Regions from separate parts of the Homo sapiens genome. Here region 1 is linked to region 2. Evidence: promoter capture Hi-C in 16 types of primary human blood cells and fetal thymus (Javierre and others, 2016). All regions are on one chromosome and are shown on one strand. Each heading gives the region's core, a stretch centred on a gene start or on the middle of the fragment in contact. The rest is flanking DNA. Distances are from core to core; before and after follow the strand shown.

Evidence for each region. The method cuts DNA at HindIII sites, captures the fragments that hold promoters and counts their contacts. A CHiCAGO score of 5 or more calls a contact.
Region 1: a fragment that was not itself captured here is called in contact with the fragment with the promoter of POLB in region 2 in 16 of 17 cell types (endothelial precursors, M2 macrophages, M0 macrophages and 13 more); the score reaches 11.6 in endothelial precursors.

What each region holds. Positions count from the first base shown.
Region 1 is chr8:42,155,701-42,161,258 of GRCh38, reverse strand. AP3M2 (adaptor related protein complex 3 subunit mu 2) reads right to left here. Exons shown (of 9, transcript NM_006803.4): 3 at 3,147-3,318. Among named protein-coding and RNA genes, the nearest start is that of AP3M2, 5.4 kb to the right of the region's middle. The HindIII fragment of the contact is 5,361 bases long and covers 347-5,558 here.
Region 2 is chr8:42,337,142-42,343,093 of GRCh38, reverse strand. It overlaps POLB (DNA polymerase beta), which reads right to left and starts at 4,600. Exons shown (of 14, transcript NM_002690.3): 1 at 4,409-4,600; 2 at 4,025-4,082. The coding sequence starts at 4,469. It also overlaps the pseudogene RPL5P23. The HindIII fragment of the contact is 11,887 bases long and covers 1,293-5,952 here.

The DNA.
Region 1 (5,558 bases), core at 1,778-4,277, 180 kb after region 2:
CAATCATAACTCACTGCAGCCTCGACCTCCTGGGCTCAAGTGATCCTCCCACCTTAGCCTTCAGAGTAGCTGGGACCACAGGCATGCACCACCATGCTTGGCTAATTTTTGTATTTTTTGTAAAGACAGGGTTTCATCAAGTTGCCCAGGCTGATTTCGAACTCCTGTGCATGAGTGATCCTCCCGCCTCAGCCTCCTAAAGTATTGGATACAGGCATGAGCCAATATGTCAGGCCCATTTCAACTTTTCAAAAGTGGTTCTTAGATACCCTTTTCTAGATTAAAGTGAGATACAGGCTTAACTCACTTCATAATATTCGTAAATGATTCAGGCACTAACAAAGCTTTTAAGGCTTAAAATGAACTCAGAATATTGAAGAAACCACCAAATTTGTTTCCTTAAAAAGAGGAACTATGTATTAAAATGTATCATCAAGATATAATAATCAAAGCAGTCTAGGGAAAAGGCAGGAAAGCCTAAAAACAGACCAAGAATCCATAATGACAGGACAAGATAGAAATGTCATTCTAAAACAGGGGAAAAGGATAAATTACACAATGGTGCTAGGAAAACTCTTGAAGAAATAAACATTATTGCACACCAAGATAATTTTCAAATGGATTAAATAATTAAATCCAAAAATAAAATCACAAACTAGACTTTTAAAAAAGATCTTCCCTTCTCTGAGATCAAAAAGACATTCTCCTGTTTTTGTCTAATAATTATAAAGTCTGTGTTTAACTCCTTAACCTAGCTAGACTTTATTTTGTGTATAGTGTGAAGTGGAGGGACTTAATTTTTTCCATATTGAAGCTGACTGCCCTAATACAATATAGTTAACAACCAGCCCCTGGTCCACTGATTTGATAAATGACCACATCTATCTACACCAAATTCCTATAAAAGCAAGGGTCTGTTTCTGGACTATTTTATCCCAATGACCTATCTGTCTGTTACAGACAAATACCAAATTTTAAAAACTACCCAAACTTCATACAGATTGAGTAATCTTTACCTGAAATGTTCAGGACCAGAAATGTTTCAAATTTTGTATTTTTTTAAATTTTGGAATATCTGGATTATACCAGTTGCGCATCCCAAATTCAAAAATCTGAAATCCTCCAATGAGCATTTCCTTTGAGTGTCATGTCAGTATCCAAAAAGTTTTGGATTGTAGAGCATTCTGGATTTTGGATTTGGGATGTTAAACCTGTAATATATCTGATATCTGGTAGGACACATTTTATCTTTCCTCTTTTTAAAAATATTATTTTCAAAACTCTCTTGGGTCTTGTAGGATGTCTACTGTATGAATATTTGTCTTGTGTACTATACAAACTTAACGTGTCGTGATATTTGACAGGGCAAATCCTCCCAACAACCCCTTTGTAATTCTTTTCCAAAACTGTCCTGGCTATTCTTGCAATATTTATACTTTTAAAATGTATTTTTCAATCAGTTTATAAAATTCCATGAAAATGCTTGCTTATGCATTAAACAAGACCCAAAATGTAAAACCTTAATGAAAAGAATGATTAATTTGATTAAATCAAAACATTTAAAATGTGGCTAAACACCACCAGAACAAAGCTAAATCACAAGTGATAGACTGTAAGAAAATATCTGTAATGCAGTAATCAAAAGACATAAAGATCTCCCATAAAAGAGATTTTAAATCCACATGAAAAAAGAAATACATTTCAACAACAAAAAAATGAACAAAGGACATGAAAAGGTAATTCACAATAGAGGAAAAACAGTCAATAAATACTTGAAAAGATTTTAGTCTCCTTAATAACAAAAAATGACTGTAAATACAAGATATCAATAAACTATCAAATTGCCAATGTTTCTAAAAAATTATTAATGACAATAACAGGGTTCACTACAGTGCTTTGAAATTGTTACTGAAAGTATAAATTGGCCTAACTTTTCTGGAGAGCAACACATTACAGTACTTAAAATGTATACACCCCTTGACACAGCATTGCTACCTCTACTACTTTAAAGAAATCATCCCAGATGTGCACCAAGGTTCAAGTGTAAGAATGGTAATCCTTGTTATTTAAAAGAACAAAAATCAGTAACATCATAAATAGGGATTCAGTACGTAACTTTGGGTCCACTCCACATGGAAGAAAACTATAAATTATTAAAAATGAAGGCCAGGCATAGTGGCTCCCACCTGTAATCCCAGAACTTTGGGAGGCCAAGGTGGGTGGATCACTTGAGGTCAGGCATTAGAGACCAGCATAGTCAACATGATGAAACCCCATCTCTCCTAAAAAATACAAAAATTAGCTGGGCATGGTGGCGTGTGCCTGTAATCCCAGCTACTCGGGAGGCTGAGGTAGGAGAATCGCTTGAGCCTGGGAGGCGGAGGTTGCAGTGAGTTGAGATCGCACCACTGCACTCCATCCTGGGCAACAGAGCAAGACGCCATCTCAAAAAAAAAAAAAAGAACCATGTAGAAGACATCATCATGGGATAATGTTCATAAAATATCACATGTTAAAAGTGTGGTGGGATTAAAAGCAATTTTTGCATTCTTTGTGCTTTTCTGTATTTCTGAAGTTTCTACAATAATCATGTGTTTCTTCTGTAATCAGAAAAAAATATTTTTAAAGAACACTTCATTTTGTCATTAAAATCAGGGTATTTTCCACAAAGCAAAAATATTATTTCAGGTTGTACTCAGTCTACAAGAGGGGCCAGGCGCGGTGGCTCACACCTGTAATCCCAGCACTTTGGGAGGCCGAGGCAGGTGGATCCCCTGAGGCCAGGAGTTCAAGACCAGCCTGGCCAACATAGTGAAACACCATCTCTACTAAAAATACAAAAATTAGCTGGGTGTGATGGTGCATGCCTGTAATCCCAGCTACTCGGGAGGCTGAGGCAGGAGAATCACTTCAACCCAGGAGGCGGAGGTTGCAGTGAGCCAAGATCACGCCACTGCACTCCAGCCTGGGTGACAGAGGGAGACTCTGTCTCAAAAAAAAAAAAAAAACAACTACAAAGAGCAAAATTAAAGCACTGGGACACCTGAGATCCCCAAAGACAAACACTCAAAACAATGTGCGACACTCGACTAAGCCACTCAGGCTGTAGGATGGCCACTATCTATCAGTTTCCCCCTCTGCCGTACCTGTGATGGTGTTGACAACCGTTCGAAGGATGGTAGGAGGCTTTATGAGTTCTTTAAGAATGTTCGACTCGGTAGCCAATGGAAAACCATTGTCAAGCATCTCTTCCAATACCTCATAAACCACAACTACATTGTCTTTGATCACTGGCTCTGAACAGACTCCAAAATAATCCTGATGGAGACAGAATATACACATTGATCACTCAGATACTGTAAAATAAATAAATAAATAAAAGAATGTGCCTACAGAGAATAAGGATCTGGCCTGTCCATGTGTTTCTGGGCTACTCTTCTACAACGAGGGAATGCAGCATAACCATAGTTCTCTTAGGCAGTCTGTTTGGTAGAAAGCACTAGACTGGCTTATGGTACTACTGTCATTACTAGCTTCTTCTACAAACAAGAGGAACTTAAATCTTTTGGGTTAATTTCCTCAACTTGATAAAATACACAGAATACAAAATTGAATCTTGATTATGTGCTTATCAACAAGAATTTGAAAGAATTATACAAAATAATACTTGATATAACAAAGAACAGTACATGAAAATCTTTACCCCTACTGCTGTGCTATTTCTTAACATTCATGCAGTGAATAAGAGTTGAGGGGAAAAAAATGAAATGAAGGGGACAAGCTAGCACACCTGAAAATTCCTTTGGACTATCTTTAAGACGCTAGCATTCCAAGAACTCTTTGTCCTTTTATTTAAAAGGCTAACGTTAGGTGCTAAATTATCTGCATTGTGGGAAAGCACTGGATTTCAAACCAGAAGACCTGGATTATAATTTTGTCATTTGTAGATTAAGTCATGTTAATTAATTTTGATCTTGATTCTTTAATGGTATAATCAGGATAACACCACTGGAGGTACAGGGCTGTAAGAATTAGGCATGACTAATTAAACACTAACGCTCATGAATGTACTTTGTAAACTATAAAGCACTACAAAATGGAATGCGTGATCATTATTTAGCAAGAAATGTTTGTGGCTATTCAATGTTCCCTTCCAGCAATGTCAGTATGTCTTTTCCAGGACCTCTGAGAGGGTCATGCAACCCTCTTGAACTCATAGAATGAAGGAAAATTTACTCCTTTTGAGAAAGTCCATTCTATTCATGAATGGCTCTGATCATTCCAAAGTTCTTTCTTTTGCTAAACTGAAATTTGCCTCCTAGCTCTGTTTTGCAGAGCAAGTGTACATAACAGCCCTGCAATTATCTGAAAACTACGAGTTTTCACCTCAGTTTTTTTCTTCTCAGGGCCACACTTTCAAGATACTTCCGCTGTTCATGATAAGGTATGGTTTCCAGGTTGTTTCACCATCTTTCCATTTCTTTGACATCCAAAACTGAACAGACTCTACTAGAGTCTAAATTACATTAGATAACGTCAATTATCCACAAGATTCCAATACCCGGGTCACCTAAGAGTCAGGAATGTATTCCTAAAACAAAAAGATTTCCTCTTTAAGAGGAAAATTCTCATTTTGAATGATAATTTAAAAGAAGAAAAAGTCACACATTTCCTTCCCAAAAGTGATTTATTTTTAAAAAATAAAACACTTCACTAGGTTTTATAAACCAGGCATCATGTGAACTAAGCAGCTGGAAAGGAGCCTCGCAATACAGCCAAGTGCTGCAGCCGGCCTGTGAGCCTGCAATTCTATTGCGGGGCCGCTCCTGTCACATTCTGGTCCTGGAAAAATCATGCTGCCGGAGAGGATGCACATCCACATCGGAGACCTGAGAATCAGGATGTCCACTGACTTTTAACAACTGCTTCAAGAATAACAAGCTCTGAAGTCTCAGACTTCCAAATTAGCAAATTTACTCTGCTTTCCCAAATTCCCCCATGGTTTCAACTAGATCAAACAACTCTTCTCACTTCCTGTCTTGTAATAAGTTACATTAGTATGGCCATATAGCGGCTGTCAGTTTCACCAGTGCGACTGTTAATCTCAGAATGAGTAAAGTATCACACGTGGAAATCATAACAAGGCCCAGTTAAAAGTTGTTTAGGATCACAACTCCTGGGTTCTTCTAGTTCTTCCACATACTGGGACTTATACTTACGTTTTCACTGTGCAAAGGGGCCGGTATGTTGCATGAGAACTGAAATTCCAGAACAGTAGTACTACAGAGTATTGCAGGGAAAAACAAAAAATGTATTTTAATTCTCTTGGGAAGGGAAGTTGTTCTAGACGTGGTGCAGATATGAGTACAAGAGAAGGAACTCTTTGACTTGCTTTTTAACTTTTATCATAGTGTGTGGGTCCTCATTCTCTTCTCCAATTCCACAATTCCAGTGTTCATATGACTCATTCCAGACCTCATATGACACAGAAGTTAAACCAAAAGGCCCTCGCTTCTCATTTGAGTTATGCAAATAACCACAACAGTTAGAAGTTGATT
Region 2 (5,952 bases), core at 3,351-5,850:
GCCTTGGCCTCCCAAAGTGCTGGGATTACAGGCGTTAGCCACTGCGCCCAGCCAATTTTATATTTTTAGTAGAGACAGGTCTTCACCATGTTGGCCAGGCTGGTTTCCAACTCCTGACCTCAAATGATCCACCTGCCTCGGTCTCCCAAAGTGCTAGGATTACAGGCATGAGCCACCACACGCAGCCCTTGGATAGCTATTTTAAAATTCATAGTTTCAAACTGCATTCCCTTATGTCCCTATATCAATTTATTTTTTTTTAATGCAGATGGGATGTTGCTATGTTGCCCAGGTTGGTCTTGAACTCCTGGGTTCATGCCATCCACCCGCCTTGGCATCCCAAAGTGGTGGGATTACAGACGTGAGCCACTGTGCCTGGCCCCTACATCAGTTTTTAAAAATTGCTCCCGCCTTTCCACCCCCTAGTGCTGCTGGGCCTGCAGGTCTCTGTTCCACAGGATGGACTTTGTTAAAGTTGTTAAGAATAAGGCCTACTTTAAGAGATACCAAATGAAACTTAAAGATGACAAGATGGTAAAACTGATTACTATGCTCAGAAACGCTTGGTAATACAGGATAAAAATAAATACAACACACCCAAATAGAGGATGATAGTTCATATAACAAACAGAGATATCAATTGTCAGATTGCTTATGCCCGTATAGAGGGGGATATGATAGTCTGCGCAGCATATGCACACGAACTGCCAAAATATGGTGTGAAGGTTGGCCTGACAAATTATGCTGCAACATATTGTACTGGCCTGCTGCTGGCCCACAGGCTTCTCAATAGGTTTGGCATGGACAAGATCTATGAAGGCCAAGTGGAGGTGACTGGCGATAATACAATGTAGAAAGCATTGATGGTCAGCCAGGTGCTTTCACCTGCTATTTGGATGCAGGCCTTGCCAGAACTACCACTGGCAATAAAGTTTTTGGTGACCTGGATGGAGGCTTGTCTATCCCTCAAAGTACCAAATGATTCCCTGGTTATGATTCTGAAAGCAAGGAATTCAATGCAGAATTACACCAGAAGCACAACATAGGCCAGAATGTTGCAGATTACATGCACTACTTAATGGAAGATAAAGATGCTTACAAGAAACAGTTCTCTCAATACATAAAGAATAGCATAACTTCAGACATGATGAAGGAGATGAAAGCTCATGCTGCTATAGGAGAGAATCCAGTCTATGAAAAGAAGCTCAAGAAAGAAGTTAAAAAGAGGTGGAACCATCCCAAAATGTCCCTTGCTCAGAAGAAAGATCGCATAGCTCAAAAGAAGGCAAGCTTCCCCACGGCTCAGGAGGGGGCTGCAGAGAGCTAAACCAAACAATTTTCTACGAGGATTTTTCAGATAAAGACAATAAACTTATGGACAGAAAAAAAAAATTGTTCCCACTGCAGTTCAGCATAAAGCGGTGACCTGTAATTCTTGCCCACCTCCACACATATCCAGTTTGTTAATCTGGTGACAGATTGGATACACCCTGGGAGCTCGCTGACGGTATTCTGTCTATAATTTCAATGCAAAATGTAATTCAGAGTTGATGCTGATGAGAAGTGACAGTACAGCTAAGTCAAAAGCATAAACACTGGATAGTCTTTGGAACCTTGGATTTGCATTCTGTTATAGCACAAATAACCCTTTATATTTGGATTTGAACTTCTCTCTAAGCACATGACTGATGATGAATCTGAAAAGACATATTTATAAGTAAAGGAGCAGGCAAACACAGTTTATGGAGGGGATCATTTCAGGAAAGGCAAGTAGTTCCAGGTCATTGGCACTGTGAGGCAAAGCCTAAAAGGGAAGAAGAATCAGATGAAAGGCCTTTTGTATGCTATGATGTATTTGGGTTTTATCAAGGTAAAGAGAAAATATTATTTAATTATTTGACTGACAAGATCAGATAACTATTTTCAAAAGAATACTTTGGCCACAATCAACAGAAATGTCTACTGGGGTAGGGAGGAGCATGCAGGAGTGGTAGGGAATCACCTGCTTTTCCAGACTTATTTCCCACTCATACCATACCCGTTAAGCAAACTGAACATCTGACTTCCAGAAAACGTTATACCCTTCATGTCTCAATGCTTTGGCACATTTTATTTGTCTAGACTGCTGGCCCTCTCACTTATCCCGATGAGCTTCTTCAAACTAAACACCTCCTTTCTGAGACCTGCTGTGATCCAAATAGAATACAAAGTTGAATATCTCTGTAATTTTGAATCATCAAATGTATGGATGATAATACAATTATTTTACTTTACAGAGGAAGTCACAGAAGTAAGGAAAGGAGGGAGCACAATCAGCTCTGAACTGTGTGGAGTGGGAATGGAAGAAGGGAGCTGACTTGGGATAAAGACAGTATAGGGCTAAAAATGTGGAAAAAAGTCCAGTGATACACAGATTTGGAGTCACTGACATAAGTGGCATTTCAAAGTCAAGAATGGCAAGATTGCCAGGGAAACTACAGAAGTAAGAAAAGAGGGCTAAGGGCAGGCAGACTCCCCGGAACCACAGGTTAACTATCCCTTATCTGAAATGCCTGGGACCAGCATTGTTTCAGATTTTGAATTTTTTTCAGGGTTTGGAATATTTGCGTATACATAATAAGATATCTTAGGGATATGGGAGATACAAGTCTAAATACAAAATTCAGTCATATTTCTCACACACCTTACGCACATACCCTGAAGGTAATCTTATATAGTCGTTTTAATAATTTTGTGCATGAAACAAAGTTTTGACCATTTTGACTGCCACCTACTACATGAGATCGGATGTGGAATTTTCCACTTGTGTCATCATGTCGGCAATCATCCAGATTTTAGAGCATTTCAAATTTTCAGATTAGGGATGCTCAACCTATACCAACATTAAAAGGTAAGACAGAAGAAGAGATGAAAGACCAGAAAGAGTGCCATTACAGAAGTCAAGAGATATTCACAGCATGAGCCAGGGGTGAATGCCACAGAGAGTCCAATAAGATGAGACGTAGGTGAGCGGATTTTCAGAGCACTGGTAGGTCCAGGCAAGGACTGGGACTTCTTGAGTAAATGATTAGGTATTAAGAAGTCCAGGCAAGGAATGAAGATTTTTCAAGAAGATTCACCATAAAGTGAGAAAAGAGGGAAGGTGCTAGCTAGAGGGAAGTTAAGATTGTTTTGGTTTTGCTTTTAAGAGCTGAGGGACTTGCACATATTTATAGGCTAAGGAGAGCTGACACCGAGGCTGATGCCTGGAATCCCAGCACTCTGGGAGACCAAGGTGTGTGGACCATTTGAGTTTAGGAGTTGGAGATCAGCCTGGGCAACATAGCAAAACCCGGTCTCTACAAAAAAAAAAAGAAAAAAAAAGAAAGAAAAAAAAATTAGCTGGGTGTGGTGGCGTGCGCCTGTAGTAGTCCCAGCCACTCAGGAGGCTGAGATGGGAAGATCACTTGAGGCTGGAAGGTTGAAGCTGCAATGAGCCATGATCATACCACAGCGAGACCCCGTCTCAAATAAAAATAAATAAATAAATAAATATAGGCTAAGGAGTAGAAGCAGGTGGATGTGGAAAGAATGAATAGGATAAGGCCCCTGGTGAGATGAACAAGGACAGGATCCCATGAACAAGGAACAAGGATCAGGATCAGGATCCCACAGGATCAACTTTAGACCAACCAAAAGAAAAAATGTGATTCCTTGAACCACATATATTTCACAGTATGGACTTCATCCGCTGTCTTTCATTACGGTTAAAATTACACCGCATTTCTAGTAATTCATGTTTGATGATGACAAAATACGTATCAGGCTACAGCTATCTGCAATCAGAATTGGGAACTTATCTGAACTGATCCTATAACGCACTGCCCACATTCTTCAAGAAATAGTAAGGTACCAGCCTCGATTCTTGCTTTTTCCCGCTCTTGCAGATGGACCAAATATCCACTGGGCCCTCAGTCCTGTTAATTGCCACACTAAACAGGGTATCCCAGAACGTATGCTACCCGAGAATGCTGCACTGTCCCACCTGTAAGCATTGTACTTGTGGATAGCTTGGCTCACGTTCTTCTCAAAGTTTGCGAGTTCTGAAAGGCAACAGAAGGCTCGGGTGAACAAGAACCACGAGTAAACAAACGAGAACTGTTTTCTGGAAGGGGATATGGCAGCCTCTAAGAGACAGTGACCACCCGTTTCCTCCAAGGGCCAGACCAAAAGCAGCCCAAGCGATGGCCCAGGTGTAGCCGGCAGGACTGACAACCAGCCAGGGGCGCCGGAGGGAGATCCCCACGGAAGACGACCCGCTGCAAGGAACCTACCCTACCCACTGGACTGTCGGTGTGGGAGAGAAGGAAGGCAGGGGAAGAGGCTGGAAGGAAAGAAGAAAGCCAGCGGGGCCCGGCCCGGTGCTAACCTGTGAGCATGTCGGTGATTCCCCCGTTGAGAGTCTCCTGCGGCGCCTTCCGTTTGCTCATGGCGGCCTGCACCCGAGAACCCCAGAGTGTTCAGAACCAGGGACTAGAGCCCTCTCCCAGCTTGAAGGAGGTACCAGGACTTGGAGACGGGAGCAGGAGCAACCCAGCTCCGGCGCGACCGGCGGAACAATGGTTGCCCCCGATGGGGGGCGGGGCGCACGGCGCTTGTTGTGACGTCACGCGTCCTGGGCGGGGCGGGGCGGGGCTAGAGGGGCGAGCCCTCGGCAGGTGAGGAGAGAGAACTCGGAGGGTTCGTGGACTCGTGGACGTGGACACGGCGCGGGGGAAATAGGCACCTCAGAATGACAGCCCAGGGGCCTTCCTATGGGAAGACCTGGAGTTTTGACCTAAGATATTAAATCTGTTTTCTCAGTGTTTATCTGGAATCCTTTCCCTAGAAGGGGAAACGGGAGTGCGATCTTGATTCTGAAATACTTGCGCTGGTGGGGTAGCTTCCTGCACAAAAATGTGCACTGTAATAGCTACCCAATGCATGGCGCGTTTTGTACGTGGTTAGAGGCGACACTGGCGTCACACTGTCAAAACTTTCTCTAAGGATACCGGGCAGTCCACACTCCAGTGCAGCCCCTTACGTACTAGGGCGCTGCCGGAGCCCGGCGTGAACCATGCCGAGAACAGGAATCCTCCCGCACACGTGTTAGTACACCTGCCAACCAGTGTCAAAAGATATTTTATTTTTAATCCCCCTGCCTTTGCGGTAGGGACCAAATTAATGAAGAGACCACAAGAAAGGGAGAAGTGTTTCATCTAGATCATGAGCAATGGAACCCTAATTATAACATGATGACCTACATCTGAGAAATTTACAGTCTGCTTGAGAAATGGAAATGTCACATCAGCAATAGTTTATTTTACAAGCGTAACTCCTGGGTTCATATCGAACTGCAATTCCAGGCAATTGCTTTGTGCATCGAAAAATTAAAATTTATTACAAAATGATACGTAGTTGCTGTAGAGAAATCTGGAAAAATGTATAAAAGGAGAAAATTAAAATCAGTGATCTCACCCTACAGCTGAACTATTAATATTTTGGGACGTACACTTCTAGTCTTCTAACCCAGTCTATTAAAAATTCCCATTATTTTCCAATAAATATCATTAGTTTCTTTGATTAGCAAGGTTGTGGTGATTGTGTTTCCTTACAATATCAGTGTATATCTTAAGTTATGCTTATTGGAAATCTGTAATTCTTCTTTTTTTGAATTTCCTATTCATATCATTTACCATTTTCCTAATGGGGGTAGTTTGTTACTAATCTGGTAGATCTTTTCTATATATTACTACTTGCCCTTTTATGGATAGCTTTTGTAAAAATTTTGTACATATTTGTATTTTCCTCAATTTATTACTTGAGGAATAAAAGTTAAAAAAACTTTATGCCTGCAACTTAACTATCTGATTAGTTAAGCTGCAGTGAGCAGTGACCACTCTCATTTACTCTTTATACTCTCATTTACATATA